Regions from separate parts of the Homo sapiens genome. Here region 2 is linked to region 1. The links are contacts of gene promoters, found by promoter capture Hi-C in blood cells and fetal thymus (Javierre and others, 2016). All regions are on one chromosome and are shown on one strand. Each heading gives the region's core, a stretch centred on a gene start or on the middle of the fragment in contact. The rest is flanking DNA. Distances are from core to core; before and after follow the strand shown.

The links. The method cuts DNA at HindIII sites, captures the fragments that hold promoters and counts their contacts. A CHiCAGO score of 5 or more calls a contact.
Region 2: a contact is called between a fragment that was not itself captured here and the fragment with the promoter of MANF in region 1, in 1 of 17 cell types (fetal thymus). The highest score is 6.6, in fetal thymus.

What each region holds. Positions count from the first base shown.
Region 1 is chr3:51,383,715-51,386,587 of GRCh38, reverse strand. MANF (mesencephalic astrocyte derived neurotrophic factor) reads right to left here and starts at 1,297. Exons shown (of 4, transcript NM_006010.6): 1 at 1,152-1,297; 2 at 253-380. The coding sequence starts at 1,245. It overlaps DOCK3 (dedicator of cytokinesis 3), which reads right to left. Exons shown (of 53, transcript NM_004947.5): 53 at 2,390-2,873. RefSeq lists a silencer at 1,102-1,471 and an enhancer at 1,532-1,881. The HindIII fragment of the contact is 4,055 bases long and covers 1-2,806 here.
Region 2 is chr3:50,331,443-50,334,491 of GRCh38, reverse strand. It overlaps RASSF1 (Ras association domain family member 1), which reads left to right. Exons shown (of 6, transcript NM_007182.5): 3 at 2,338-2,442; 4 at 2,636-2,933; 5 at 3,043-3,049. Among named protein-coding and RNA genes, the nearest start is that of RASSF1-AS1, 4.5 kb to the left of the region's middle. The HindIII fragment of the contact is 3,617 bases long and covers 1-3,049 here.

The DNA of each region.
Region 1 (2,873 bases), core at 48-2,547:
CCCTGATATTCCCAGTGCCTAGCACATAGTAGGTGCTTAATAAAGACTAACAGGATAAAAAAAAATCACAGTTGCAGAACACATGCTGCTTTGGGAAGGACATAGAAGCACTTCAGTCTTCTCACATTAGTTTATGGAGAGAGTAGCTGGCTTCCTGAACAGAGAGGTGGGCAAGGCCTTTTATCAAACGGCTGGTGAAGCCGAGGGTTAACATGAGCCAGGGCCAGTTGGGGAGGATCACCAGCTACTTACCAACCGATTCTCTTTGCCTCTTGCTTCCCGGCAGAACTTTATAAGTTCGTTTTCAATAGTGGCTGGTGAGAATGTGACATCTCTGTCTTTGAGGTCCTGGTAAAATCTTCCCAGATAAGAAATACAAACTGGAAAAGAGAGGGACGGGAGATGCTCAGCAATCACCAAGCTGTTCCAATCCACCAGAAAAGAACTCCGCCAGCAATTTTAATAGGAGACACGGAGATGAATCATTAGAGGTGAGCTTTTCCATCACCGATTTTTCTCAGGTGTCTACAGGTAGACAGAACCCGGTTCCAAGTGGCGGGGGTCCCCTGGTACACCCAGGGCATCAAAGGACCAAGCATCACCCAATGACCTATAAACGACTTCTCCCTGCTCCTTTCATCAAGTTTAAGCCCATGGTGAACACGTGTCCTTGAGACGGGACTCACTGTGACCTCATAAATGGAGAGACTGGAAGGTGAAGAGAAAAATGATCAAAATGCTGCTGCTAATTTCCAAATACAACAGCGGACCCAGAGGTGCAGCTTCGTGATCCCAACAGACAGGGCGCAGCACCCACGGCCAGCCCTGGAGCTCCCGACGCCGAACGGGGAGCGGTAACCTCTAGATGGTGGTGGGGACAATAACTCAGGAGTGATGGAGATTTCAGGACAAGTTTTCAACGGGATCTAGTCTCAACTTTTCTTCGTCGGACCAATGTTTTCTAGGCCCAAGAAAGATTTACTAGGGCGGGCGCCGGAGCCTCCTCATGCAGGCCCCGCGGGGACCTGCTGTCGCCCCCGCCCCCGCCCCCGCCCTCGCCCTCTTGGCCCCGGCCGTCTGGTGATGTTGTGGGGTTCAGCGCCGCCGCCAGAACGGTCACGGAGCGCGGCCCCCGGCCCCCTATCCCGCACCTTCGCAGTCGCCCGGCCGCAGCGCCCGGCTGCCCGGCAGCACGCTCAGAGCCAGCGCCACCGCCAGCCCCTGCGTGGCCCACATCCTCCTCATCCTCCTCATCCTCCTCCTCCTCCTCCTCCTCCGCTGCCGCCGCCGACCGACTGAACCGCACCCGCCGCGCCGCACCGCCTCCAAGTCCCGGCCGCGCGCCGTAGCTCCCCATTGGCGGGGGGCCCCCCGGCGCCCTCCCACATGCCACTTCCCCATTGGTCCAGGAGCCGCGAGCCCAGACGGGCGGCTCCACGCTGCCCTCCCTCATTGGCTGGTGGTGTCTGAGCCCTAGACAGTTGTCGGCCGCTGATTGAACCCGGGCTGGCCGCAGGAAGCGACTACAGCAGCGACGGAAGCGGTGTGGGCCGCCATCTTGGGTAAGGGCAGCGACTGTGGCTGAGGCTGGGTACTGCTAGCTGAATGGGGTTCGGCCACGCCTTACATCTGTTGAGTTGACCCGCGTACCCCTGCCCTGGGCCCCAGGCTCCCTCGAAAACCCCTGCTGATCTCCTCGCCCGGACTCCGACTCGTGGTGCAGGAGTTCTGGGGTCAGCCAAGACAACAGGTTAGGCAGGAAGGGCGGGCGGCCGCAGGCAAGGCTCAAAGAGGTTTCTTTTTTCTTCTTTCATTCGCGTGGGCAACGGATCCAACCTTTGAAAGCCCACCTGCTGATCCTCCACCTGACCGGAGCCCGCCGTGCATAGGCTGATAGGAGACGTGCGGGGTGGACGGACTGCGGGACATCTGAAGGAAGGGCTCAAGGCGCGCCAAGCTCAAAGCTGGGCCGCCACTCTAGACCGTGGAGGGAAGCGCCCGGGCCAGATCATCGGTCGAGGACATGGGGTCGCCTCAGAGTGGGAAGGTGAGGGGCTCGGGAGGTGCCCTTACAAGCTCTGAATCGTGGCTTGGTGGCTGGCCAGCCTCCTCCTGCCTCCCCGGCTAGGCCCTCGGGGTCCCCCGCTGCCGTGGGACCTCCTGAGTGGGGTCCCGGGAATCACCAGAGAAGCACTGGAGGATGTTTCCTTTTCGACTGCCCTCCTTTCAAGTGCCCTCCTGGCTGCCTGCCTTCAAGGCAGGATGCGGGAACCGTTGGCTCTACTCAGTGCAAAAAGGACATGTCTATAGGGCTAAAAAGGGCTTGGAGCCCGGCGACAAGGGTTGGAGAGGGGCACATCCTCTGCTCCCATTCAGTGAATTCAGTGGATCAGTATCACGTATTTATCTTTAATTCACATCACAGCAGTCAAGGAAGTGGGGAAAGGGGGAAAAAAAATCAAGTGGCAGATATTTACATCTAAAATTCACATTACTTGTTGGATTTTGAACATGCTACCACAATATATACAGTAAAATACCTCTTGGGACAATGGTACAAATTTTGTTTCCTTTAACTTTGCTTTTCTGGTACAGGTAAGATCATTTTTAAATCACTTTTTTTCTTTAAACATGAATACACAAAAGAAATGGTTAGAAGTTTCCTTGTTTTAAATAAGCACAGAATGCGGGAGGTTAAAAACACATTTATAGTGCTGAATACCAATTGGACATCACACTCTATACATTTTTTGCTCAAATTCCTGTACAAATACACAGCATTCAAATAGGTATTTACAAATAAGCTTGAAAGAATGAAAATCAGTATTTTACAATCTTTTCAAAGGGTTCTCATCTCTGGCCTCCCATTTCCC
Region 2 (3,049 bases), core at 407-2,906, 1.1 Mb after region 1:
GGGTACTTCTTCCCGTTGGTGTACTGAACAAACACATCCACTGCTTTATTCACAGCCTCCAGCCCTCATTTTCCAGGGCCCACACCATTTGTTTTTACTAACCCGACAAGGTTGCCCACTGTCCCCAGTAAGGTTTGTACTGGGGTTTTTACTCCAGTGCTCTTCTCCATCCAGGAGACCTTTGGATACTTGGGGAAGAAAATGAGCTTAAATTCCCACCCCTCCCCCTTTACCTTTTTCCTGTAAGGCCCTGGCCTTAGTTCTTAGCCCCACATCCTTGCTGGCTGCAGAATAGCAGCGGGTTCTGGGTAAGGAGCATTCTGCTAAAACGCTCCACCCTGCTCCCTCATCTGTCCTCTCCATTTGTCCCCATCAGATGGTTTAAGTGCTTAAGGGGACTCCAGGGCGGAGTCAGGGAGAACCCTGGCTCTCCTGGGCTAGGCACAAGATCATTCTACAGGAAACCTTGTGGGAATTCTTCTGGGACAAAGTATTGGTCAGCGCTGAGCTTAGCTGTGTCTGTGACACTCGCATTCTAACTAGGGCCTATCTGACGTCAACAGGAAGTAAGGCTGATGCAGTGGGGCCAAGGGAGTCTGGGAGAAGAAAGTCGGTTCAGAGCCCTGGCTGCCCTGTCCCACACTCCACCCTTCCGGCAAGAATCCAGTCCCTAGATGAGGTGGGGAGTGAGTGGTCGAGTTAAAAATCTCTGGGTCGGGTACGATGGTTCACGCCTGTAATCCCAGCACTTTGGGAGGTGAAGGCAGGCGGATCACTTGAGGTCAGGAGTTCAAGACCAACCTGGCCAATGTGGTGAAATCCCATCTCTACTAAAAATACAAAAATTAGCCGGGTGTTGTTGTGGCACGCGCCTGTAGTCCCAGCTACTCGGGAGTCTGAGGCAGGAGAATCGCTTGAACCCAGGAGGCAGAACTTGCAGTGAGCCAAGATCCAGCCACTGCACTACAGCCTGGGCGACAGAGTGAGGCTTCGTCTCAAAAAAAAAAAAAATCTTTGGGCCAAATCTCCAGACAGCACAGGCAGGTGCAGAAACCCACCAGGAAGCTGCCTGTGTACCTCTGGCAGATTGGAGCCTGGCCTAAAGCTGCCTTTTATGCAGCTTGGGTCAAGGTTAAACATCATGTCACAGTGATTTTTCTCACTATGTGTGAGACATGGAGAACTGGCTCCAAGTACTACTCTGTCCACTGGTGGCTGGACTACTGATGTGCACCACTCTCCACTCCTCTCACCCTGCAGTGGGTCATGGCCCCGTGCCGGGGCAGAGGAGAAAAATGGGCTGCCTTCTCCAGGACAAACCCTCACTCCAACTCAACTAGGGTGCTGTGATCAGAATGTGCAATTGAGGTGTGATTTTACTGATTTTTTTTTTTTTTGAGACCGAGTTTCGCTCTTGTTGCCCAGGCTGGAGTGCGATGGCACGATCTCAGTTCACTGCAACCTCCACCTCCCGAGTTTGAGCAATTCTCCTGCCTCAGCCTCCTAAGTAGCTGGGATTACAGGCATGTGCCACCACGCCTGGCTAATTTTGTATTTTTAGTAGAGACGGGGTTTCTCCATGTTGGTCAGGCTGGTCTCAAACTCCTGACCTCAGGTGATCCACCCGCCTCGGCCTCCCAAAGTGCTAGAATTACAGGCGTGAGCCAACGTGCCCAGCCTGTTTTTGTTTTTTGTGTTTTGAAGCAGGGTCTCACTCAGTTCCCCAGGCTGGAGTGCAGTGACACGATAATAGCTTACTGTAGCTGCAATCTCCCGGGCTCAAACGATCCTCCCACCTCAGCCTCCTGAACAGTTGGGACTACAGGCACACCACCACACCTGGCTAATTTTTTTTTTTCTTTTTTTAGTAGAGATGAGGTCTTGCTATGTTGCCCAAGCTGGTCTCAAACTCCTGAGGATCAAGTGATCCTCCTACCTTAGCCTCCCAAAATGCTGGGATTGCAGATGTGAGCCACCACACCCAGCCTGATTTTACTTTAAATGAGAGTCCCTCTTCAGAGTCCCTCAGCTGTTCCTGGCCCCTGGCCATGTGCCTTCAGTTGCCCCTGCTTCTGTGGTATCCTTAAGGCTACATTCAGTGCTGAGGCCCTAGGCAGGCAGCAGAGAGAAGCCAAATGATTCTGTCTTTCCCTTATCCACCCAGAGCATGCAAAACCAGGAGCAGTGGTGGGTTCAGGGTGGGCACCAGCTATGTATATGTACATCAGGGACAGGGGGCCAAAGGCAGTCAGTTTCCAAAGACTGCCCCAGAGGCCATTTTTCAGAGAAGCCCTGGGTTCCTCAAGGGCCCTGTGTCCATGCTGGCCCATCTTGCAGGACGAGCCTGTGGAGTGGGAGACACCTGACCTTTCTCAAGCTGAGATTGAGCAGAAGATCAAGGAGTACAATGCCCAGATCAACAGCAACCTCTTCATGAGCTTGGTGAGTTGACTGCTCAGGAAGGGGGCGTGGGGAGGAGCAGGTACCCAGCTATGTGCCTGATACTCAGAGGGTCACAACTGAGGTTATCTTGGGTGGGCGCAAGCAGTAATTTGTGCATACCCAGCCTAGCCCCAAGTAGACTGACATCTCACCTGGAACCTATTATCAAGGTTTGGTTTCTCTATTTCTTTAGAACAAGGACGGTTCTTACACAGGCTTCATCAAGGTTCAGCTGAAGCTGGTGCGCCCTGTCTCTGTGCCCTCCAGCAAGAAGCCACCCTCCTTGCAGGATGCCCGGCGGGGCCCAGGACGGGGCACAAGTGTCAGGCGCCGCACTTCCTTTTACCTGCCCAAGGATGCTGTCAAGCACCTGCATGTGCTGTCACGCACAAGGGCACGTGAAGTCATTGAGGCCCTGCTGCGAAAGTTCTTGGTGGTGGATGACCCCCGCAAGTTTGCACTCTTTGAGCGCGCTGAGCGTCACGGCCAAGGTGGGCTTCCCACCCCACCCTGCCCTATGTGAGGGTATATACGCATGCACCTGAGCATGCAGGGGCTGAGCAGCTGGCCCTGTCTCTGATCATTACTTCCCCTTCACAGTGTACTT